Regions from separate parts of the Homo sapiens genome. Here all the other regions are linked to region 6. The links are contacts of gene promoters, found by promoter capture Hi-C in blood cells and fetal thymus (Javierre and others, 2016). All regions are on one chromosome and are shown on one strand. Each heading gives the region's core, a stretch centred on a gene start or on the middle of the fragment in contact. The rest is flanking DNA. Distances are from core to core; before and after follow the strand shown. Region 1 holds the start of LOC105375740 (a long non-coding RNA gene). Region 2 overlaps MTSS1 (MTSS I-BAR domain containing 1). Region 3 overlaps RNF139 (ring finger protein 139). Region 4 overlaps RNF139-DT (RNF139 divergent transcript). Region 5 overlaps TATDN1 (TatD DNase domain containing 1). Region 6 holds the start of ZNF572 (zinc finger protein 572). Region 7 overlaps NDUFB9 (NADH:ubiquinone oxidoreductase subunit B9).

The links. The method cuts DNA at HindIII sites, captures the fragments that hold promoters and counts their contacts. A CHiCAGO score of 5 or more calls a contact.
Region 1: a contact is called between a fragment that was not itself captured here and the fragment with the promoter of ZNF572 in region 6, in 16 of 17 cell types (naive B cells, total B cells, fetal thymus and 13 more). The highest score is 25.6, in naive B cells.
Region 2: a contact is called between a fragment that was not itself captured here and the fragment with the promoter of ZNF572 in region 6, in 16 of 17 cell types (naive B cells, total B cells, fetal thymus and 13 more). The highest score is 20.1, in naive B cells.
Region 3: a contact is called between a fragment that was not itself captured here and the fragment with the promoter of ZNF572 in region 6, in 3 of 17 cell types (naive B cells, total B cells and fetal thymus). The highest score is 8.5, in naive B cells.
Region 4: a fragment that was not itself captured here is called in contact with the fragment with the promoter of ZNF572 in region 6 in 3 of 17 cell types (fetal thymus, naive B cells and total B cells); the score reaches 6.6 in fetal thymus.
Region 5: a contact is called between a fragment that was not itself captured here and the fragment with the promoter of ZNF572 in region 6, in 4 of 17 cell types (total B cells, naive B cells, erythroblasts and 1 more). The highest score is 8.2, in total B cells.
Region 7: a fragment that was not itself captured here is called in contact with the fragment with the promoter of ZNF572 in region 6 in 14 of 17 cell types (total B cells, naive B cells, endothelial precursors and 11 more); the score reaches 20.3 in total B cells.

Annotation. Positions count from the first base shown.
Region 1 is chr8:124,568,182-124,571,604 of GRCh38, reverse strand. It overlaps MTSS1 (MTSS I-BAR domain containing 1), which reads left to right. Exons shown (of 14, transcript NM_014751.6): 7 at 3,069-3,226. It overlaps LOC105375740 (a long non-coding RNA gene), which reads right to left and starts at 2,722. Exons shown (of 2, transcript XR_928608.3): 1 at 2,691-2,722. The HindIII fragment of the contact is 8,842 bases long and covers 1-3,423 here.
Region 2 is chr8:124,588,591-124,591,960 of GRCh38, reverse strand. MTSS1 (MTSS I-BAR domain containing 1) reads left to right here. Exons shown (of 14, transcript NM_014751.6): 4 at 726-810; 5 at 2,250-2,341. Among named protein-coding and RNA genes, the nearest start is that of NDUFB9, 51 kb to the right of the region's middle. The HindIII fragment of the contact is 2,738 bases long and covers 602-3,339 here.
Region 3 is chr8:124,487,773-124,491,217 of GRCh38, reverse strand. RNF139 (ring finger protein 139) reads right to left here. Exons shown (of 2, transcript NM_007218.4): 2 at 2,600-3,445. TATDN1 (TatD DNase domain containing 1) reads left to right here. Exons shown (of 12, transcript NM_032026.4): 12 at 2,522-2,720. The coding sequence ends at 2,624. Among named protein-coding and RNA genes, the nearest start is that of RNF139, 15 kb to the right of the region's middle. The HindIII fragment of the contact is 1,041 bases long and covers 1,368-2,408 here.
Region 4 is chr8:124,468,654-124,472,312 of GRCh38, reverse strand. All of the region lies in intron 1 of RNF139-DT (RNF139 divergent transcript), which reads left to right. Among named protein-coding and RNA genes, the nearest start is that of RNF139-DT, 4.1 kb to the left of the region's middle. RefSeq lists an enhancer at 318-819. The HindIII fragment of the contact is 259 bases long and covers 1,199-1,457 here.
Region 5 is chr8:124,511,020-124,514,476 of GRCh38, reverse strand. The region is part of intron 6 of TATDN1 (TatD DNase domain containing 1); the gene reads left to right. Among named protein-coding and RNA genes, the nearest start is that of MIR6844, 4.2 kb to the right of the region's middle. The HindIII fragment of the contact is 3,726 bases long and covers 1-3,296 here.
Region 6 is chr8:124,971,859-124,975,464 of GRCh38, reverse strand. It overlaps ZNF572 (zinc finger protein 572), which reads right to left and starts at 2,170. Exons shown (of 3, transcript NM_152412.3): 1 at 2,049-2,170. RefSeq lists an enhancer at 2,068-2,227. The HindIII fragment of the contact is 4,233 bases long and covers 112-3,606 here.
Region 7 is chr8:124,548,293-124,551,768 of GRCh38, reverse strand. NDUFB9 (NADH:ubiquinone oxidoreductase subunit B9) reads right to left here. Exons shown (of 4, transcript NM_005005.3): 4 at 1,790-2,008. The coding sequence ends at 1,877. It overlaps MTSS1 (MTSS I-BAR domain containing 1), which reads left to right. Exons shown (of 14, transcript NM_014751.6): 14 at 1-985. Among named protein-coding and RNA genes, the nearest start is that of NDUFB9, 11 kb to the right of the region's middle. The HindIII fragment of the contact is 729 bases long and covers 1,233-1,961 here.

The DNA of each region.
Region 1 (3,423 bases), core at 115-2,614, 400 kb after region 6:
TCTGGTGTCTCCCGACTTCTGTTCACCATCCTACACGAGAGTTGAGAACATTCTGAGGTGGTCTGCAGCCCTCTGTGTTTTGTTATTAGAACATCATAGAATAGATCGAGAGACTAGAAGTAGCCCTCTAGACCAGCCCTGAGTCATGTGACCCAACAAGGCCCACAATTGGCCATGCTGTTTGGCTGCTTGCAGAGGAAAAGCAAGGGTTTACAGCTTTCCAGAGCTTCCCTGCTGGTGGACTCGTATCATACACACATTAAGTATATCTGGATTAATTTTGCACTAGCCAGCATTTTAAAATAGAAGAGAAAACTCACAGTTTTCATAGTGCTGGTGGCACCCAGCCTTCCCTCTGTAAGCCGTTGGCCACAGGTGGTGGGTCTCTGTGAACAGAGCACCTGCCCTGAGGCAGATTCCAGGAGAGAATGGGAGAATGTTTTTACAGGTTTCTTGTCTACTAAAAACACATGAAACCAGTGGCTCAGGTGGCCAGATTAATGTATGGTGATGATTACTCCTACATCCTTGAGGAAGAAATTGAAGGCATGGTAAAGAATTATTCTGAGGGGTGGAGGTAGTGACTACATGGAAGAATGGGTGAGTGGGTCACCTTGAAAATATGCTGAAACACCCAGGCGCTGTGGCTCATGTCTGTAATCCCAGCACTTTGGGAGGCTGAGGTGGGAGGATCACTTGAGGCCAGGAGTTCAAGACCGTCTGGCCAATAAAGCAAGACCCAATCTTTATAAAAAAAAATTGAAAAACTAGCTGGGCATGGTGGTGCACGCTGGTAGTCCCAGCTGCTTAAGAGGCTGAGGCTGCAATGAGCTATGATCATTCCACTGCACTCCAGCCTGAGTGACAGAGCAAGACTCTGTCTCCAAAAAGGAGAAAATTATGCAGAGACTTCTCAAGCAGCAAATTTCTTATATATAGTAGTTCCCCCTTCTCCTCAGGGGATATGTTCCAAGACCCCCCGTGGATGCCTAAAACTGCAGATAGTACCCGAACCTTACATATACTGTGGTTTTTCCCATGCATACATGTCTATGGTAAAGTTTAATACATAATTTAGGCACAGTAAGAGATTAACAACAATAATAATAGAACAATTATAACAATATACTGTAATAAAAGTCATGCGAATGTAGTCTCTTTCTCTCTTTCAAAATACCGTATTTTACCACACCATGGGTAGCTGAAACTTTGGAAAGCAAAACCACAGAGGAGGGGCCAGTGTAGTATAATCGTTGGGTAGCACCCCTCCGTGGACTTAGATACATACTATCTACACATTTGTACTCACTTGACTGATGAGAGTTATATACACAAAGCTGTCCATACTGTATTTACTGGCCATCTAAGGCATTTTCAAGGGTGATCTTTGACTATAATTTTCTCATAATGTGCTAACTTAGAACTTATTCCCTGTCTGAGAAGTGACTTTTCCTTACTAAAATCTGACTACCTTTTCTATTGGGATGTGCTTTAAGCCTGATTGCCTCTTGCTCCAAATTAAACTTTCTCCTCTGCTTATGAGTGAAAAATACAGAATATGTTCCTACATCCAAGGCAATTTTCCCTGACCCTTTCTTTCTTCAGACCAAATGGTTCATTGCATTTAATGTTCTCTACATCACTAAGAGGGATAGATGGAAACTGCAGGGCCCTTCCTGCGAGGCGGTGGGGCAGAGAATAGGTTCAGTGTTAAGGGAATTAGGCAGTGTGGCTCAACCCTGCCTCTGTACCATTCTTTCTGTGACCTTAGGTGAGTCCCTTGACTTCTCTAGGACTTGGTCTCCATTGAAACATGAGCAGATTGGCCCAATTGGATAACCCCTTCCAGCTCTAACATTTTGTGTTGAAACTATTAAACAGACATTTATCAAGCACCTGCTGTATACACACATGACATTGTACTAGGGGCTGTGCTGGGAAAGACCAAAATCCTGCCCTGAAGAAGTTTAGGAAGTATCTCTCTGGTTTGAGTGATAGGTAAGGCCCCTGCATAGGCAGCCCAAGGTGGAAGCTCATGAGCTGGTGTCCCCTGCTGTCACCCTGCTGTCCCCACCTACAGATCAGATTTGTAGTAGCTGCTCCTTTGGACACAGTGCCTCTTGGTCCATGTTTATCTTTTAGGGCAGCAGGCTTCTTTTGCAAGAGGCCATGGTCTGGGGGCCATACTCTGTGTCACACTACTCTGCCATTGTAGGGAGAACTGGTACAGGCAATATGGTAAATAAATGGATTTGGCTGTGTTCTAATAAAACTTTATTTGCAAAGATGGTTTGCTGACCATGTGTTAGTCATTCAAAAGACTAACACCCTGTCTTAAACTCCAGAAGTGGTTGCCTGCACCTAACTGGGGTCTGTGGACCTGGCCAGATAATTCCTAAACATGGGCCAGGCTCCGCATAGACCCCACTTTCAGTTTTTCATCATCAGAGACCTGTCTGGAGGTCTTGTTATTACTGGGCTTGTTCTACAGCAAGAGCATTCAAGACTCTCCACTAGAGAGTCAAAGGAACTGCCAAGGATTCCCATGGGCCCCCAGAGCCAGGAGAGCGGATGCTTGCCACCTTTGTCTTTAGGAGCAGATCCTTCTATCCAGACAGAGGCTCTTTGATTGAGATTGACCCAACAAAGCCAGCCCGTGCCCGTTTTTGGAAACACCCACAGGCTCTTACCTTGTTTCCACATCTCTTAGCCTCTTCAGAATGTTCTGCAAGGAAAGAATGCTGTCTGGCTCTGTGTTCCAGGGTTGTGTTGGCAGAAGAGTTGGTGGGGGTTGTGCAGTGTGAGAAGGCAAGTCATGAAGAGTTGCCCCAGGACATTTTCCTTGTCAGGAATAAGCCAGGCTAAATGTGCCCTTTGGGCATTGAAAATTGGAAATGGCTGGTCCTAGAAAAACAGCTGCCTTAAATCCTTTTGGGGCATGAATAAATACTTTTTTTACATCCTGGAAAATTGTGGTTTTGACTCCAGCAAGGACCCCAGGGAGGAGGGGCACTTGTTCCAGAAGCTGGTATTTCAGCAAGCCGTGCTTGGGTCTCTGTTTTTTGCAGGGAGAGGTGATATCCAGCCTCAGTTGGACAGTGCTCTCCAAGATGTCAATGATAAGTATCTCTTATTGGAAGAAACAGAAAAGCAGGCTGTCCGGAAGGCTTTGATTGAAGAACGTGGCCGATTCTGTACCTTCATCTCTATGCTGCGGCCAGTGATTGTAAGTTAATGGAAAACTCCAGAAGGTTTAAACTGCTGGTGTAGAGGTGGCTTCCTTCTAATTTTATCCATCCACTGTTGAGTCATGGAGAATCTACTGTCAGGAATCATGATGGTGGTATCTCCTGTACAGACCAGCGATTCAGTGCAAGTTGATGGCCATGTAGCTCACTCCTCATTCACTGTTCTAGTACCACT
Region 2 (3,370 bases), core at 721-3,220, 380 kb after region 6:
AAAAATAAAAAAATCAGCTGGGTGTGGTGGCACGTGCCTGTAATCCCAGCTACTTAGGAGGCTGAGGCAGGAGAATTGTTTGAACCCAGGAGGTAGAGGTTGCAGTGAGCCTTGATTGCACCACTGCACTCCAGCCTGGGCAACACAGCAAGATTCCATCTCAAAAAAAAAAAGTCCTATTACCTCATTTTGCTTTAGCCTTGCTATTCTCTGAATTACTTGTATTCTAGAACATTTGTCTTGAAATAATTAGCTAGCGTGGCTGCCTTGGCTGTTCTAAATAATGTTAACGGGATTATTTTGTCAGAATTGTTGAGAAAAGCTACAGCTCTTCCCTAAACAGCAGATACTATATTGATTATCTTTCATGAGAAGTATTTTTCAAACTACAGGTCATGGTCGATTTATAGGTTGTAAAGTCAATTTTTAGATTACAATCAGCATTACAAAAAAAATCAGATGGAATAGAAACTAACAGAGTGTGGTATATAGTAGGAGCAGCCTTTGGTGATAGTTTTGGTGATACAGAAATCTGTCACCATACGTACATACATGTTTACATGTGCCTGTGTGTATGCACACATGGGCATGGTGAGAAGCTTCTAAAGATGGTGGCTTATATTTTACAATGTGGTGAAATCTGACTTGTTTGTAAAGTTCTCTAAAGACCTCCATGATCCCTGCTAGTCTTCTATCCCTCACCTTTGCCTCTGTTGCTTTTTCAGGTGGGACCAGGGAGATTGGATCTGCTCTCACCAGGATGTGCATGAGGCACAGAAGCATTGAAGCCAAGCTGAGGCAGTTTTCGAGGTGAGGAGCATGTTTTGGCCCCGATCGCCAACACCCTTGCAGATTTCAGGTTAAGGAAGCAGTCATGTGTGGCACACAGCATTTAAATCCCCACAATCTGTCTGACTTGGCTCATTCATTGCCTGAGTATTGTTAGGCATCTGCTGCATACCAGGCACTGGTCGAGGCCCTGGGGGTGCAGCAGATCACCAGCCAGCCAGGCCCCTGCCTTCACAGAGCCTGTGCTCCTGCATGGGTCTCTCCTTACCCTTTGTCTGTGCAAGGAGCCGGTGCAGCCTGCTGAGGTCTTTTGGGCCCCCACTGCCCTGCGGGAGCCTCGCAAGAAGAGGGGCTGTGAAATTGGAGAGTGAGATGTGCCTTGGTATCCTGTGTGCATCCTCCAGACTCACTGAGGGATGTGGCAGCTCACAGACCACTCCACACCGCCAGCTTCCCATCTGGCTTCCAGGCATCCAGAATAGGGAAGAAATGGTAGTAGCTGGCACCGGAATTGGGTTACAAATGTTCAAGTGAAAATGGACATTGCTTTCCAAGCAGATCAGCATCATTCAGCAGTTTTATGTGATTCTGTTTGGGAGACTGCACAAAATGAAGGGGCACACCTTCAGAGACCTTCACCCCTCAGTAACCCCGAGGCTGGCAGTGCAGCTCGAGAATTTTCTGGGTCTCGTCACTCTTCTCTTTCTCCAGGCTGTGCATACTTAGTGTATATTTATGACCTGTCATGCCGCATGCACAGCAGAATCTTGTGGGTCTTTTTTAAAAATAGTGATGCTGGGCCCCACCCTCAAAGTCTCCATTGGGGGTGAGATAAGGCCCAGGTGTCTTTGCATTTTGGGGGTCCCTGTTGTGCAGCTCTCAGAGGGGTGACCCCTGTGGTTCTGCAACTTGGCTTGTTAATACAAACACTAGAATATCACAGGGAAAATGGGAAGAAGGGTCACTCCCACCAGTCACATTGACAGCTTCTTAGTAGTCATTGAAAAACATTCTTGGGGCCAGGCGCGGTGGCTCTCGCCTGTAATCCCAGCACTTTGGGAGGCCAAGGCAGGCGGCTCATGAGGTCAGGAGATCAAGACCATCCTGGCCAACATGGTGAAAACCCATCTCTACTAAAATACAAAAAATTAGTTGGGCATGGTGATGTGTTCCTGTAGTCCCAGCTACCTGGGAGGCTGAGGCAGGGGAATCGCTTGAACCTGGGAGGTGGTGGTTGCAGTGAGCCGAGATCGCGCCACTGCACTCCAGCCTGGTGACAGAGCGAGACTCTGTCTTAAAAGAAAAGCATTCTTGGAACATGGCTGTTCTGGAGCCCCGGGGTTTAGATGAGAACGTTTCGGGTAATTGTGATTTAGGTATGTTTTGACAACCACATTTAAATCCTGACAACAGAATGTATCTATTTAATTTCTCCCTTTTTCCCCCCCGCTTGGTAAAAGCGCTTTAATTGATTGTCTGATAAACCCACTTCAAGAACAGATGGAAGAATGGAAGAAAGTGGCCAACCAGCTGGATAAAGACCACGCAAAAGGTACAGGGGCGAGATGTCTAGCGCATCACTGCACGCTGGGGGGCGCTGTGGGAAGTTGCCAGCTGCTGCCTGGCCCCTCTGCTAGGTTTATTGGTGTCACCAAAACAGCCAAGGGCCCACTCTGTCCCTACTCTCCTGTAGGCACGTCCGTGTCAGGGGATGAGGAGAACAAAGTGATCCCGTTGTGAGGCTGAGTGCTGTTTCTTTGGTGTGAAACAACATTCAGCAGCTGATAGTCTGATCCCTCAGTGGCATGAATTGTATTCAGCTGAATTAAGAATAAATCACAGGGTGGGCGCGGTGGCTCAGACCTGTAATCCCGGCACTTTGGGAGGCCGAGGCGGGCGGATCACTTGAGGTCAGGAGTTTGAGACCAGCCTGGCCAACATGTTGAAACCCCATCTCTACTAAAAACACAAAAATTAGCCAAGCATGGTGGTGGGTGCCTGTAATCCCAGCTACTTGGGAGGCTGAGACACAAAAATCGCTTGAACCCGGGAGTCAGAGGTTGCAGTGAGCCAAGATTGCACCATTGTACTCCAGCCTGGACGACAGAGTGAGACTCCATCTCAAAAAACAAAAAAAAAGAAAAAGAAGAAATCATAGGCCGGGTGCAGTGGCTCACACCTGTAATTCCAGCACTTCAGGAGGCTCAGGTGGGCAGATCACTTGAGTCCAGGAGTCTGAGACCAGCCTGGCCAACTTGGTGAAACCCTATGGCTACTAAAAATACAAAAAGTATCCAGGTGTGGTGGTGCATGCCTGTAATCCCAACTACTCGGGAGGCTGAGACACGAGAATTGTTTGAACCCAGGAGGCAGAGGTTGCAGTAAGCAGAGATTGCACCACTGCACTCCAGCCTGGGTGACAGAGCAAGACACTGCCTCCCCCTAACCCTCCAAAGAAGTGAAAATCATCATGGCAGGTTTAAATGCCAAACATTTATACTTAAGGCATTTCAGCACATTTTGAAAGCCAGACTTTTAATGATATAAGCTTACCCTAGGTCTCCTGCCCATTCTCTTTGTG
Region 3 (3,445 bases), core at 639-3,138, 480 kb after region 6:
ACCCAAAGGATTTTAAGCAGGAGAGTGGCAATTATTTTTTTTAAAGCTATAACTTGTATCAGTATGGGGAAGGGCTGGAAAGGAGATAGGGTAGGAATCATGTAGATCTTGCAAGACTTTAAAAACCTTTGCCTGGCTGGGCACAGTGGCTCACACCTGTAATCCTACCATTTTGGGAGGCCGAGGCAGGCAGATCAGTTGAGGTCAGGAGTTCAAAACCAGCCTGGCCAACGTGGAGAAACCCTGTCTCTACTAAAAATACAAAAAAATAGCCGGGCATGGTGGTGGGCGCCTGTAATCCCAGCTACTTGGGAGGCTGAGGCAGGAGAATCACTTGAATCTGAGAGGCAGAGGTTGTAGTGAGCCAAGATCACACCACTGTGTGATCACACACAGTGAGCCAAGATCACACCACTGCACTCCAGCTTGGGCCACAGTGTAAGACTCTCTCAAAAAAAAAAAACAAAAACCTGTGCTTACTGTAAAAGTGCCACATTAAACAAAAGCCACTAAATTCTCAGGGACATTAAACAACTTTATATTCATTTTGGAATAACTGCAGCTTTGACCACTGAAGATGTATGGAAATAGCATGGCTTGGCTACAGAAGGGTTATTCGAAGAAAGATTTCCATAAACTGCATTATCAAACAGTAAAATAGGATGTCCTAAGCTCCAATAGATTTTTTTTTCTTTTTTCTTTTTTTTGGAGAGAGAGTCTCGCTCTGTTGCCCAGGCTGGAGCGCAGTGGCACAATCTCAGCTCACTGCAACCTCCACCTCCCAGGTTCAAGCAATTCTCCTGCCTCAGCCTCCCGAGTAGCTGGGACTACAGGCGTCCACCACCATGCCTGGCTAATTTTTTTTGTTTTACTAGAAATAGGGTTTCACCATATTGCCCACACTGGTCTCGAACTCTTGAGTTCAATCTGCCTGCCTCAGCCTCCCAAAGTGCTGTGATTACAGGCATGAGCCACTGGGCCCAGCCCAATAGATTTCTTATAAGCGATTTCAATAAAATGAATTTGCTATGCAATATAATCTTAGCAAAGCTGCTGTGACCTTCAAAACTGTGTCATCAGCAGCATTAATCAAGAGTTCCAATTCTGAGAAGTGCATACAGAGGGACATTCAGTAGTTTCCTAAGAAAAATGGATTTTCACTGTCTTAATTTAAATGTTAATAGATTTGCTTTTAGTGTATCTTGACTGTCAGATAAAATTTTAGTGTAGTGTTTGCTTAGTATAAACATCAAGCAAGGCTTTTGTGTCACATTACAAAACAATTTTTTAAATTCCCATTAATCTTAGATCTCCATCCTTAATTCCTTTAGGTGTTAACATTTAAGATACTAAGGGAACAAAAAGCTTAGGCAAAGAATATTTAAATGTTCAATTTGGACTTTGGAACTTTCTAATTCATGTATTAAAAATCTTCCACTTATATATAATAAGTATGGAGACACTACGGATCATCATTACTGTAAGCACAGAAACTGAAAGATGCGGCCAGGCGCGGTGGCTCACACCTGTAATCCCAGCACTTTGGGAGGCCCAGGTGGGGTGGATCACAAGGTCAGGAGTTCAAGACCACGGCCAGCCAACATAGTGAAACCCCGTCTCTACTAAAAATACAAAAATTAGCTGGGTGTGATGGCAGGTGCCTGTAATCCCAGCTACTCAGGAGGCTGAGGCAGGAGAATCACTTGAACCCAGGCGGCAGAGGTTGCAGTGAGCCGAGATCGTGCCACTGCACTCCAGCCTGAGCAACAGAGTAAGACGCCGTCTCAAAAAAGAAAGAAAAAAGAAAAAAAAAAGAAAGGAAAGAAAAAGAAAGGAAAGGAAGGGAGGGAAGGGAAGGAAGAGAGAGACAGAGAAAGAAAGAAACTGAAGGATGGACACCTGGGCTTATTTCTCTCGCAAGGGTAGAGGTACAGAAAGCCCTCGCCCTCAATAACCACACATTTTTCCAAGTAAATATTACTTTTGCAGCAACCTAATACCTTCATTTGCTGTCTCTCAAGGACTAGTTCTCTAGCAGTAGATTTCCAACTGTGGCTGCTGTCCCACAGTACAAATTACGTTGTGACTTAGGACACACATACATAATAAAACCTAACAAAAAATGGAACAGTACTTACCCTTATTGAGTACAATGTACTTGTCAATGTTTAAAATGCTCATCATGACCCACTAATGAACATGCTATGACTCACAATTGAAAAGGACTCTTCATTTCCACTCAGTTAATGCTATAATTGGTGAACATAATACAGATGGCTGCTTTAATAATTTACTTGAACCTGGTTCTTAGCTCTAGTTATATGCAAGACAGTCCATAAATCTGTTTCCAGTTACTGGCAGTAAGTTTTTCTATTGATATTGCTGAAAAACTTAATAACTGTTAAGCTTTATTATATTAAAGGTGTGCCAATATTTTCCTTTGTGTGGAAAAATATTATATAGCTTTAGAACTAAATGTATACTTGGAGATTTAACCATTTTTGTTTTTGTTTTGTTTTAGTCAAATATTGGAGATAATGTCAGCAGTGAGAGATGAGGATCCACTGGAATTAGCCAATACACTATATAACAATACTATTAAAGTATTTTTTCCTGGAATATAATTGGTATATGTCTTCCACTTTCCATCATGTATGTAAAATTTCATAGTAAAACTTCCTGATAGTTTCAATAAAGAAATTATCTGCAAGTTGTCTAAAGAAATACTATATATCGGTACACACCATTCCCCACCATTCCCCTTCTTTTTCTCGTAAAATCAGATCAGGATGTTTTTATATCATTGAGTATCTTAGTTTAAAACAATTTAAAAAAAACTATTTTTGTTTTGTAATATCTTCAAAAGAATGAAAGGACAATTTTATGACAATACTGCAGACACAGAATGGCTAACAAATATACAATTTTACATAAAAAACATTTAGCACATTCTGGTTTATATCAAAGTTTAGTTGATACAGTTTATTTGTCAACCCTCAGTCTCTCTCTGAATCAGGACTTTCAAACTCAGCTCAATTACACTGCTACTCAAGTTTCAAAAAAGGTCCTCAGTTGCTTCTGGCAGCTAATTTTTTCTTTAGTTTTAAAATACTCTCTCATGTCCTTTATCCTCTGGTCAAATTATTTTATTTCCTTGACTTTAATGTGGTTTCCTGATTTGCATTTTCATTCTCCCACCCATTTCTAAAGAAAAACTGAGGTCCAAAGTTACATTATATAATTTCATTGAAGAATATTTGGCACAGGTGACGCACCATATGATCATTACATCTATTAAAAAGCTATTTGTTCAAATTTTGTCATAAAAATGTGAAAACATTTTATTCTATGTACAATAATGTACACAAATTTAAACAGGTCACCAAAGAGACCAGAAGTAATTAAAGAGGTATATTTACAGTAGCACATCACAGTAAACGGAAAA
Region 4 (3,659 bases), core at 79-2,578, 500 kb after region 6:
ATAAAAGATGTTTCCAGCTGGGTGTGGTGGCTTATGCCTGAAATCCCGGCACTTTGGGAGGCCAAGGAGGGTGGATTGCTTGAGCCAGAAGTTCAAGACGAGCCTGTCCAACAAGGCAAAACTATATCTTTACAAAAAAATTGTAAAAATAGCTGGATGTGGGCTGGGCGCGGTGGCTCACACCTGTAATTCCAGCACTTTGAGAGGCCGAGGCGGGCGGATCACAAGGTCAGGAGTTCGAGATCAGCCTGGCCGACATGGTAAAACCCCCATGTCTATTAAATATACAAAAATTAGCCGGGTGTGATGGTGGGCACCTGTAATCCCAACTACTTGGGAGGCTGAGGCAGGAGAATTGCTTAAACCCGAGAGGCGGAGGTTGCAGTGAGCCAGGATGGCGCCACTGCACTGCAGCCTGGGTGACAGAGTGAGACTCTGTCTTGGGGGAAAAAAAAATAGCTGGGCATGGTGGCATAGGCCTGTGGTACCAGCTGCTCAGGAGGCTGAGGTGGGAGGATCACTTGAGCCTGCCTTGAGCCTGGGTAGCAGAGGTTGCAGTGAGCCAAGATCACGCCACTGTACTCTAGCCTGGGTGACAGAGTGAGACCCTGTCTCAAAAAAAAGGTAATGTTTCCAAGAAATAGCTACAATTCACTGAATCTAATCTTTGCTTGATTTCTGCATTGATTTGAATGTTGCACAACTCAGGTGTACATTTATATTGAGTCTGCACAGTGTGGTTCATGAGTGTGTGTGTGTGTGTGTGTGAATACACACACACACAAACTGTATACATAGAATACTCGTGTTTGAAAATAACAATCTGTTATAAATCCTTCAGATTTAACAGCTCAGAAAGCCTTTTAGTAGCTTTCAAAACTTTTACAGGTAGGATGTGTAAAAACTAGTTTGAATTTTCTCTTGACATTTGCATTAATGAAGTCTTTGTTTCCTACAACAGAAACTGATTCTTCTGGGTTATCTTAAGCAAAAAGGGAATTTATTAAGGGGTTATTTTCATTATTCCTCAAGATTTCAAGTCCCAGGAGAGACCACCTATATTAGGCCATTCTTGCATTGCTATAAGTACCTGAGGCTGAGTAATTTATAAGAAAAGAAGTTTAATTGGCTCACGGTTCTACAGGCTGTACAGGAAACCTAGTGCCTGCATCTGCTTCTGGGGAGGCCTCAGGAAGCTTTTGCTCATGGTGGAAGGTGAAGTAGGATCAGGCACTTCACATGGCAAAAACAGGAGCGAGGGGGTGGGGATAGGTGTCACACACTTTTAAACAATCAGATCTCATGAGAACTCACTATGGTGAGGACAACACCAAGCCATCAGGGATCAGTCCCCATGACCCAAACACCACCAGGCCCTACCTCTAACTGGGAATTACATCTCAACATGAGATTTGCAGGGGAGATCCAAATTACATCACCATCCAATTGGTCAAGCTTATTGGATCATGTATCTGCACCCTAGCTTCTGTAGTGGGAGGAGGCAGTAGGAAACATGCACTTGGATTTAACCCCTTCACTCCCCACTTCTACTAATATGTATTTTCTTCAAGTGGAAGATAGGGATACTGGTAGGAAGGGTAGTGTCCTAGTCTGTATTCTGTGGTTTATAACAGAATGCCTGAAACTGGGTAATTTATAAAGAAAAGGAATTCATTTCTGGCAGTTAGGGAGGAGGCTGAGAATTTCAAGGTGGAGGGACCACATCTGGGGAGAATCTTGTTGCTGGTGGGGACTGCAGGGATCAGGGGGGCTGAGCATGCCCACTCAGGCCTTTCTTCCTCTTTTTATGAAGCCACCAGTCCCAGGCCAGGCACGGTGGCTCACGCCTGTAATCCCAGCACTTTGGGAGGCCGAGGTGGGTGGATCACCTAAGGTCAGGAGTTTGAGACAAGCCTGGCCAACGTGGTGAAACCCCATCTCTACTAAAAATACAAAAAATTAGCCTGGCGTGGTGGGAGGCTGAGGCAGGAGAATCGCTTGAACCAGGGAGGCAGAGGTTGCAGTAAGCCGAGATCACACCACTGCACTCCAGCCTGGGCAACAGAGCAAGAGTCTGTCTCAAAAAAAAAAAAAAAAAAAAAAAGCCACCAATCCCACTCTTATAGTAACCCATTAATCTATCAACCCATTAGTCCATGAATGGATCACCAGCCCTCATGACCCAATCACTTCTTAAAGGCCCCACCTTTCAGTACTGCCATATTGGGGATTAAGTTTCCAATGCATGCAATTTGGGGGACACATTCCAACCAAAGCAAGTAGGATTGATGGTGAAAATATATGCCATAACTTTTTCTCAGACCCTGGGAATTACTGCAATTGATCTCTTATCCTAAATTACTTTATGGTTTTTCTCTTCTCATTAAAGTAAATTCAGATGTGCCCATCAAAATTCTATTTGAATTTTCTGGTTTTGTAGATGCCAAATAAATAGTAAGAGTTTGTTTTTGCTACTTCTACACTGCTGTGTATGTAGAAGTGGGAATGTAAACTAGTACAACCACTATGGAAAACAGTGTGGAGACTCCTTAAAGAACTAAAACTAGAATTACCATTTGATCCAGGATTCCCACTACTGGGTTATCTACCCAGAGGAAAAGAAGTCATTACATGAAAAAGATACTTGGACATGCATGTTTATAGCAGCACACTTCGTAATTGCAAAAATGTGGAACCAACCCAAATGCCTATCAATCAATGAGTGGATAAAGAAACTGTGGTATAAATATATGACAGAATACTACTCAGCCATAAAAAGGAATGAATTAATGGCATTCGCAGCGACCTGAATGAGATAGGAGACTATTATTCTAGGTGAAGTAACTCAGGAATGGAAAACCAAATATCATATGTTCTCATAAGTGGGAGCTAAGCTATGAAAATGCAAAGGCATAAGAATGACATGATAGAATTTGGGGACTCGGGGAAAGGGTGGGAAGAGGGTAAGGGATAAAAGACTACAAATTGGGTTCAGTGTATACTGCTTGGGTGATGGGTAGACCAAAATCTCACAAATCACCACTAAAGAACTTACCTGTGAAACCAAATACTACCTGTTCCCCAAAAACCTATGGAAATAAAAAATATTTTAAGTTTGTTGCATAAGTTAAAGGAAACAACAGAGAATATAGTGGTATTTGAAGTAAATGTTGAGTATATACTGACTGTGGTTTGTTCATTCAGCAGACATTTACTGAATACTTTCTATGTGCTTGGCAGTATGCTAGCCCTCTTCTGCCTCTTTCTAGTTCTGTGTCTTGAGGCAAAGTATTTAAGCTGTCTAATCTTTAGTATCATTTGGGGAAAAGAATATTGCCACATAAGATATGAAATACATGACATGCACTATCCAATTTAGCCCTCACCAAACTTGTCCAAGGACACAGAACTAATCAGTCAATAGTAGTGGCAGAGCCAGGTTTCTGATTCATATTTTTCTGATTCCAGAGCCTAAGATCTGATCCTCTGCAAGTATGTTCTCTTGCTTTTTTACAAGAATTAAAGCAATACATCTTAAATACCTAGTATAGCATGTAGTAAACCAATTGTAGGAGATACACTCATTGGAACCCCTGTTACTACACACAGCACTTTGCAGTGCACAGCACTTTGCAGTGACTCCATTTATGACTCAGGAG
Region 5 (3,457 bases), core at 184-2,683, 460 kb after region 6:
TCCTCTGTCCTCCTTAGTTTCTTATACACAAAGAAGAATTAGGATCAGATTCTCTCTTAAGATACCATCCAGCTATATCATAATGTTTAACAATTAATAATTTTGTCATATGGTGATATGATCATATGATTAAGCCAGTGACTTGATGGCCTGAAGGGATTTTTTTAAATTACGCATGAGGAAAGTGTACTTCCTCCCGCTTCCCTCCCTGCTCCCCACAAATGGGATTCTGATATGTACCCCCTGGTTGAAAATCACTTTGGGGAGGAGCAGATCTGCTAGTGGAGTCTGTCATACCCTAGACCTCAAGCTCCAAAGTTCTGAAGTGTGAAGATCTATAACCAAGTAGAATAGGATGGGTTAACGTAATGCTCTGTGGATACCTACTCTCTCTTTTAGGTCGCTCATTTGTACATCCCTTGTAGAACTGTTTAGTTTGTGGTATATTATTTGCTGATTTGCTGTGCCTTTCAGGGACATTCATGTGGTTACTAGCAGGGTTACTGAAGCCCTATACCTCTGTCGAATATTATGTAGGCCAGCTCACTTAACCTTAAAAGTTCTCGTGTTCACATTGAAATAGAAAAACAGTTCTCTTTAATAGTTCTTTAGGTTAAGCCCAGATATCATATTCCTCAACTTTCATGTCTGGTTTTGGTCAGGATAAGCCTTGTAAGTCTAATAGACTGTGTTATGACAAGCAAGGGCAATGGCAGAGTCCCCGTGTTTTTTTGCCCATATGACTTTTCATCCAAAATGAGTTAGAACTGATTCTAAAATGCAACCTCAATACTTTAAACTCACTTTTGGGATTAATCGAAAACATTGACAGTATCAGTTTAATTTAACTGTTCTGAAGATTCTTCACCATCATCAGAATAGCGTCTGATCTTAGAATATGCATATCACAGCTTGTGCTTGAACTCACATGCCAAGCGTTAATTGCTAATAGAGAGGTTCAAACTACATTCAGTAAATGATTACCAAGTGCCTCCTCAGCATGATACAAAGAAGAATAAGACTTTTTCCAAGAGAGGACATAAATAATTAAAATAGGTTGGAAGTGCTTACTAAAGTATGTGAACAGCAGAGGGAAGGACTGACTTTCTGGGGGATGCTCTAAGGTGACAGCATATGACACTGGCTTCTTCCAGAGTGGATAAGCTAATGACAAAGTAGGAGGAAATTTTGATAAGATAGGCAGTTCTACTTGAGATTTTTAAAATTTTAATAATAAAACATCAAATGACTTGGTTAAAAAAACAGCCGGGTGCGGTGGTTCATGCCTATAATTCCAGCACTTTGGGAGGCCAAGGCAGGCCGATCACCTGAGATCAGGAGTTCAAGACCAGCCTTACCAACATGGTGAAACCCCGTCTCTACTAAAAACAAAAACTAGCCAGGCGTGGTGGCGAGCACCTGTAATCCCAGCTACTTGGGAGGCTGAGGCAGGAGAATTGCTTGAACTGGGGAGGAGGAGGTTGCAGTGAGCCAAGATCGTGACATTGGACTCCAGCCCGGGCAACAGAGAAAGATTCCGCTCAAAAGAAAAAAAAAAGACACACTAGTAACAATCACATTTTGATTATTGTTAAGGAAACAAATACCCACATTCTCTGCCCCTCACTCCTTTTCCCCTCGCATATACTCACAGCATGCAATCTGTTTTGTATACACAGCACTCTACTTGTTTCAGCACTTACCATGTTGTACAGAAATGGGTTTTCATTATCCCTTCCTCCCCGCAACAGACAGGTGTCTTTGAGTTCCTCAAAGGCACACACCAAGTCTTACTCATGTGACAGTTCCATAGCACTTAGCACAGTACTCTCAGCACATGGTAGGCACTTAGTAAATGTCTGTTGAATATTTAATACAGAGGGAAGGTTCTTTTCTTTTTTATTCCCTTTGAGCAGCATGGATAAAAAGCCTATAATTCAGCTTTCACTATTGGGTTTATTTTTGGAAGACTTCAGATTTTGGTCTGCACTTTTCTACCATCTGGAACAACCAGTGTATGATTGTGTTTGTTTGTTTGTTTGTTTGTTTTTTGAGATGGAGTCTCACTCTGTCCCCCAGGCTGGAGTGCAGTGGTGCAATCTCAGATCACTGCAACCTCCACCTCCCAGGTTCAAGCAATTCTCCTGCCTCAGCCTCCCAAGTAGCTGGGATTACAGGTGCCCATCAGCATGCCTGGCTAATTTTTTTGTATTTTTAGTAGAGACAGAGTTTCACCATGTTGGCCAGGCTGGTTTCGAACTCCAGACCTCAAGTGATCCGCCCACCACGGCCTCCCAAAGTGCTAGGGTTACAGGCATGAGCCACTGCACCCGGCCATGATTTGTTTTTAAGTAAATATGTAGTCAGGAAAAAGGAGATGTATGAGAAAAGAAAAATAGAAAATTAGGGGGCAAGACAGAAAAATTAATATACAATAGATGTAGTGTCTGAAAAATAATGGTAAGTGAAGGCGGTGTATGACCATGTTAAAAGGATGAGCTTTGGAATCAGCAGATCTTTGGGTGAGATTTACAACTGCCTTTGGTGTCACTTCATCCCTTTGTGCATCCCCTTTAAAATGGGGAGATTGCTGCCTACCTTTCTTAACATAAGGCACATAAAGCCCATAGTGACATGAGTCATGCAGAGTATGTGCACAATCATGGCTGTTGTTACATTCCTCATACTAGAAATAATTACCACCCTAAAGGAAGATGCTAGCTATTGTTTTTGTTTGGAACTTTTAAAAGTTTTTTTTTTTAATACTTTTTTCTTGTTTTAGTACCTAGACCTTTTCTGGAAAAAGTATTTTTTAAAGACTAAGAAAGAGAAGCAAAGAGTGAAAACAAGGAAAGGCCTGATCTACTTATGGAAAGTTTATCCTTTAAGCCATACCCTGTATTTTCAATTTCCTGGCCTTATGCTACACTCCTTTCCTTGTTGCAATTTAGAGCTCTGTTCTCTTGGGTAGGAGGAATTTGCTTTGGGCATTTTTCTTGGGGCTTTAAAATGTTAACACTGTGCAGGTCTTAAAAACTACAACAAGAAGATTTTAAAACAATCCTTTGGGGATTTAGGGGACCCTAGAGATGAGCAATTGAGGCCATGTTGCCATCAAGCAGCTTACAGAGGAGGGATTACTACTTGTGTTGAGGTATACCCATGAAACTCACTGGGCTTTTTGGATTTGCCTTGATCCTAATTAATAACAACTGCTCCTGAAGCTGAACTTTTCCAGCTCTTGTCGTTAGATAGTTAAACCTCAACTGTAAGAAGCAGTAATAAAATCAGAAGCTTCACTAAGATGAGCAAATAACTCAAGTGGAAAATTATTTTCATTTATGAACTTTAAAAAAATAATAAGTGAGTAAAACAGGCAGAGAAGTCTCTTAATAGATGCCAATTCCTACCCTGTAACTTATACAGTTATTTCTAGTTACCATGGCGGGTTTTTCTT
Region 6 (3,606 bases), core at 921-3,420:
AGCCCTTTTAGAAAATCTTATCTCAGATCTAAGTGTTTAGAATTAAGGGTTAACCCTGAAATAACAATGCAAAAAAGTAAATCTTCACATTAAAGGTCTGAGGATCAAGCTTCAAAGACAGAATACTAATCCTCATTGTCCACACGTAGCTTAGAAACACTTTTACTTTAAAAAGCAAAGTATTTTTTTTAAGACACCAATAATAAAACTTATAAAGACTTCAAGGAATCAATATGAAGGCATAAGCAGCAGCTAAAGAAAAAAAGCACCCTGTTTAGTTTCAAAAGAATAACTTGGTCTTGACAGAAGGAAACCTTTGAAGTCAATTTCAAAGGAAAGTTAGGATTTATATAACCAGTAAAGAGAAATTAGGACAAAGCCGAGGTGGAATAATTATAGCCAATAACCCTGCAATATAAAAAGGAGGCTAAAGAGGGACCTCTTCCTCCTTGCACTTAGTTCCTAAGTCTATCATATTCACAATATCCATTTCAGCCTAAACTTCGTCTTCTGGAGCCAACAATCACTAACCTATTTTAAGGGACTAGAAAATGTTCCATCCTGGCTAATGCGGTGAAACCCCATCTCTACTAAAAATACAAAAAATTAGCCGGGTGTGGTGGCGGGCGCCTGTGGTCCCAGCTACTCAGGGGGCTGAGGCAGGAGAATCGCTTGAACCCAGGAGGCAGAGGTTGCAGTGAGCCGAGATCGTGCCATTGCACCACTCCAGCCTGGGTGACAGAGCAAGACTCTGTCTCAACAAAAAAAAAGAAAAAAGAAAAAGAAAAAGAAGAAAATGTGATCTATCACAGGAAGGCAGTGACATATGGACTTTTGGCATCCATTTCAGAATATAAAGAGTATCATTATTTGGGAGAAAAATAAGGACGTAAAAGGATATACAAATGCACACATTTTAAAAACAAAAAATAGTATATGTACTTATATTGTATCTTCACCATTACTGCCTATTATGTGCCAGGTAGTGAATGAAATAATTTGCACACATTTGTCATTTAATTCTTACAGTAGCCCTCTGAAGTGTATGAACAACTACCAGCATTTTATAGGATGAGTTTGAAAGGTATTAAGAAACTTTCCTAAGGTCACCTAGAAAGTGGTAGAGCAGGACTGAGCTCCAAGTCTGTTTGGATGCTGACCTTTTTCACCCTCTGATCTATTATCGTAAACTAGAACAGGAAGCAGAGCTGGGCATAATCCCAAACTGCAAAGAATCCTCAGAGTCCCTTTATTTTAGAATATTTAGAATACTGGCATTTTAAAACAGAGGTCTACATTCCTAAACCTTGTTAACAAAGTGAGTCGACATTCCCTAAGCACACTCAGCAAGTGGGGATTTGTTCTAGAGAAACGTGAAACTAGTCTACATTACTAATATCCCCAGTGTTTGAGTTGGGGGGGAGAAAAAACCATACACCTGAATGCAAAAAAAGGAAGGGGGTGGAGTTGTTCGAATGGAGTTATATATTTTGCTGTCCTAAGTTACATATTGTTATCAAAGTATTTACAAAAGCAGCAAGAGTCTGGGCAACACATTACCATCTCCCCCATTTTCCCTACTAAAATACTATTAAATTTGGCAGCAAAGGAGCCCCCGGAACAGTGGCTCAGCAAAATGGTGGCAAATGCAAGACCATACAAGGCTGCCATTAAGATGTCTCTCCACGGGGAAGGAGTGTTTTCACTGTTCTAGAGCAACAATGTGATCAGAGTGGGGCCGTGCTTTGATCAGAAAGCCTTCAAAGAAAATGCACTGCCTGAAGCCTAGTTTTAAGAACCGCTGGCTGGTACAAGTTGGAGACGCTGGGGGGTGAAGTTCCAGGATACCAGACGGTCTCCGGCCGACAAGATCCCGTAAGGGACCCCGCGGACAAGGATGACGGTGGCCCGTCGGCGGGAGATGCTGGGCCTTCGCCCCTGGCAGCAGCGGGAACTCTCTCCCGGACGTCCACTGCAGCCTGGACGGGGCTGTTTCCACTCCTCTAGCCCGCAACCCTCGGCTCCCTTCCCCCCAAGAAGGAACTCACTGTTCTGGGTGCTACACCCAAGGCGCCCTGCACCCCCAGCGGTCCGGGAGGAAGGTACCCCCTCTCCCTCTGACCCCACCAACCCAGGGTCCTAAACTCTCAAACCCGGAAGGCAGAAACAGGAAGTTACCCTCATCTCCCCCGGCGGCTTTGCTGGGGCCGTTCTAGGAAACAGTGATGGCCCACTCTCGTTGATCTTAACCCTTAGGGTCCTGGACCAGAAGGAGCGTGGGGGTGGATTTCCTTTCCCTGTGCTGTGACCAGCCAACTGTGAACCTCATTTCTCTCACTTGTCAGGCGGCTTACGACAGGGGCCTGATTGGAGCTTATACTTTTCCTTGCCATCAGAATATCATCAGATTAATTATCATCACTATTAGAATCAAAATCAATCTAGTATTTTTCTTTTTTGAGACGGAGTCTCGCTGTTGCCTAGGCTGGAGTGCAGTGGCGCGATCTCGGCTCACTGCAAGCTCCGCCTCCTGGGTTCACGCCATCCTCCTGTCTCAGCCTCTCGAGTAGCTGGGACTACAGGTGCCTGCCACCATGCCCGGCTAATTTTTATATTTTTCGTAGAGACGGGGTTTCACCGGGTTAGCCAGGATGGTCTCGATCTCCTGACCTCGTGATCCGCCCACCTCGGCCTCCCAAAGTGCTGGGATTACAGGCGTGAGCCACCGCGCCCGGCCTCAATCTAGTATTTTTAAACACCTATTGTTTCTGTTCCCACCGCTATGAACATGGATATATATTTACTTACCTGTGAAAGTTAGAAAGCTAAGGCATCCATTCACATATAAAACAATTCGTTTACAAGGCACCCTTATTAACACCTAGAAAAGTAGTTAATCCCTCCTCTTTCATTACAGAGAAAATAGAAGCCAATCCCTTCATCTCACCTCTACCAAACAGAAATCTACTCAAGTCTGCACCCTGCCGTTTTCTTTCTTCCCTCCTGTTACAATACAGAGTCCCTCTGTGACCTTTTTTTTTTTTTTTTTTTTTTTTGTGATGGAGTTTCACTGTGTCACCAGTCTGGAGTGCAATGGCAGGATTTCGGCTCACTGCAACCTCTGCCTCCCGGGTTCAAGCAATTCTCCTGCCTCAGCCTCCCAAGTAGCTAGGACTACAGGTGTGCGCCACCATGCCCAGCTAATTTTTGCATTTTTAGTAGAGACTGGGTTTCACCATGTTGGCCAGGATGGTCTTGATCTCTTGACCTCATGATCTGCCCGCCTCAGCCTCCCAAAGTGCTGGGCTCTTTGGTATTTTAATAAGCCCTTTACTGGTACTCACTTTCCTACCTATCTTCTTGGAAACTTCGCACTACCAACTAAACTCTCCATCCCTCCACCCCCATCCCCAAATAGTCCCTCAGCTTTTCTTTTCTCTTTTTACTCACAATGTTTCCATTTCATCAATTTTCCACTAACCTTAACATTTCTCCTGCAACAACAACAACAAAAAAATCACTAGCATCACCAATGACCTCCATGATGTTAGTTAGTGCAACTGGTATTTTTAGTTCTCGGGTCCTTTTTCAGGAGGTTTGATATGG
Region 7 (3,476 bases), core at 348-2,847, 420 kb after region 6:
TTTTTGTATTCTGGGTAAATGTTTTTTGGAAAAGATTTGTCTTTTCTAAGTGGAAGTTAAATTTGTTATACTGCCCATCCCCTAAAGCCAACAGAGATTTGTAGATTTAAAGGGATCACATTTGAAGACAATAGTGTTTAAGAAAGCAAGCAAGTCCCTTAGCAGTCAGGTCATAACAGGGCACATTTCTGACCGAACCCTCTCAAGGCAGAGGAGGAGTTTGGTGGGTTTCATACACCCTGCAGATTCCTGTTGGCTCTAACCCTCAATTACCTAATCTTATGCTTTAACACATAACTGCATTGGATGTGAGAGTAACGTACCGTATGGTCATTGTTCTATATATTAACATTGAACACTGCTGCGATTGCTCAAGGACATTTTATGTTACGGCTTTAAAGCAAAGGCATGATTATTAGAAACTATTTAAGCTTTTTTCTTTGAAAAACAAGCTCCTTTTACAGAATATAAACAACAGTAGTGCCTGTGGTTTAGCCCACCAATCTTGATGACTAAAAGTAGCTGATGCATTGTGCATATGATGCTTGAGATGGTTTTTGCAAAAGCAGAAATCGCTGCAAGGTAATCACAATAGATAAAAGTGGTATTTTAAACCTTTGAAATAAATGGATGTAACTGTACCTTGGTACAGCTTTTCACTTGTTTAGTTTTTAAACGTTAGTATAATCTGAATAAATAAAATGTTGCCAAATTCAATGTAGAAAGAATGTGACAACACACCTTGGGTAGTTCTGCTTGTGTTTTTGCATATTGTAAAAGCAGTGTCACAGCTAAAAAGAAAGAAATCGTTTCTAACAGTAAATTATTGTGCTTTAGTTGCTAGTTTGTACTGAGAGTTGACCTCTCCCTGTGCAGTTTTTTGTTCTAAACTTGTATAAATAACAATTGTGTAATGTGTCTCCCTCCTACATTGTAACAATTGCTTCAGCCTACGTTATAAATAAAGAACCACTAGATTAAAAAAGTCCTGTATTTCAAGTCTTGTTACAATTCAGTTTGAGGTCTTAGTCAAATGTTAGAAGATGGACTGGGACTCAAATTGAGCTTACGTAGAAAAGTGACAAAATATTTTTGTGATGGCTATAAGATCATTAGTTGCCTGAAACTATTTGAAAACAGTTCTAGCTAATGAGGGATCAAGAACTAAAAGCAGCTGTTTTGGGTTGAAAGTTTTAAAAACTGCTTTATCTTTAAAAAACAAAAACAAAGCTTCTGAAACATTTAAGGAGTTCTGTTATTCCCTTACCTTTGAGTCCGCAGACAATCCAAGCTACGGTAGCAGAAGCAAAGCTGGAAAACTGCTTCTAAAATAAGCGCCACAAAGTTTTATCCCAGATTGGACCATTTAACCCCAACCATCAAACCTCCACCCCTGACAGAACTCCACAAATTCCATGCTTATTTGTTGACTATGTACTTCTTAGGGAGAGTTGTTCTTCTAATAAAAACTAAGTTCCATTAGTGAAATCTTTAGAAAACCAAAAAGGTTATTTTTAAATCCTCAGTATTTCTGTTCTTGGCTTTGTTTATTCCTTCTAGTTACCACAGCTAATTAGGCCTTTGACTTGAGAGTTTGTTCGCCTCAATCTGGTTCTGCCTCAGTTTTTCCTTACTGGTAACATATGCTATCAGTGATTTATTGCAGAGAACACAGCTGACTGACTACATGTCCTGTCATTTTCTTTACATGCACGATTGATAAAACAATGACAGTGGCACAGTCACTTGGCATCACAGTAATTCTTAGAAGAACGTCAGTCATACCAGAGACCATTTCACTGATTTTTTATTAGGGCAAGTGCATGTTCTGTAACATATTTCACTTGCAAGCATGAAAGATGAGGTCTCTCTCTTTCTACATGGGCCGCTCCCGGGGTCTGGTCACAATATACCACCACAGTGGGGGCAAATCACCTTCCTTTCGGGCAGGGGGCAAAGCTTCAGTTAAAGGACCACCAGGTGGCGTTTCCTCCTGCAGCTGCTTAACCTAGAAGGAGGCAAGGAAGGAATCATTACCAAAGGAATCTAATTGACTATAAAAATCTGTCTGCTGCAGTGAAGGGTCAGCTTTATGTCTATGGTGTGTCACTGACATTACACACTATCTGATCACAATATTGAAAAGTGTTTTTTACATATACCTGCTTTATTTTCATATCCACACTTTTAGAAAAGTCTCCTTAAGGGTTTTCCCATTCTTTTAAATAGCAAAGCCTACCCTTCCTATTCTTCCCCCTACCCCTTTTCATCACCTCATTATCTGGACCTCCTCTTATTCTGCAGACAGAAAAATGACAACTATCATTCCAATTCTCCTTGTCACAGCCCCCACCCACTGACCAGAAAAACATTTATTGTTGTGTCTCAGCTAAGTGTTCTCCAAAAGCACCATTAAGAAACCTCAGTTCATAATATGCTGGGGATGTTAATTCTAAGCCCCCTTCCTAGCAACCAAGAACAAAAATAAATCACAAAATTACATGTAAAAATATGCTCAGTTCTGCCAAGTGCTGCCCTACTACCTCCAGTTCTAGTTATGGCCAAGATAAATGTCCTAACAGAAGATCACCCATTCTGGATTGTGGCTGCCCTGGGCCTCCAGTCACACGTGCTGCTTAATAGTGTTGAAGTGATGGGATGTGTAAAGGAGGAATTGTTTGATGTTATCCCAGTGATCAATTGCAGAATGCACCTGCGGCTCACCATGCATATACTTCAAGCTTCTAAACGGTGAGACATTTCTGACAAAACACTGCCCCCTTTGGCCACAGTGCCCTTCCTTCGGGTCCCCCTTGGCCAAACACTTCCAAAGGTCAATATCCTCAGTGTTATCACCAGAACCAGCACAACTTCCAAATCATGAATTCAAATATCCCACTATCCAACCACACTCTCCCTTTCCCACTCATTTGTTTAAATGCCTCCTTGAAACTCAGACTACCAATTCACAGATCCTCCCAACTTGGCCTTCCCTCTCTGCATCTGCCCCCACTGGCTTGACTTTGTTTTTTTTTAAATTCAGCTTAGATTCCATCATGACAACAGCTTCCTTTCGAATAACCTCAAGTCCCTTGTCACTCTCTGAGCAACAGACAAACCGAACCATATACCCTCAGGCCTGTGCTCATACAGCTTAGTATTGCTAAAGAGAAAAAAGATATGGGAGCAAATCGGAGTCATTACCCACTGATTATTCCCAACCTCAAATGGGCCTTTGCCACCTGGCCATCCTACTACTCTCCAGCAAGCTCTTCCTCGCCTCATGACTATCACATCTTGTCCACATTCTCCAAATATGCTGCACCCACTCATTCTGGGCTTTTCCTCTTATTTCACTAAAAAAAGGAAGCTATCACACAAGTCTGTCATCTTCAAAACTTCTAACCCAAATGTATTTATATACAATCTTTTGCCCAATTATAATGCACAAAGAATCCTTTTTCCTTTTCTTTTTT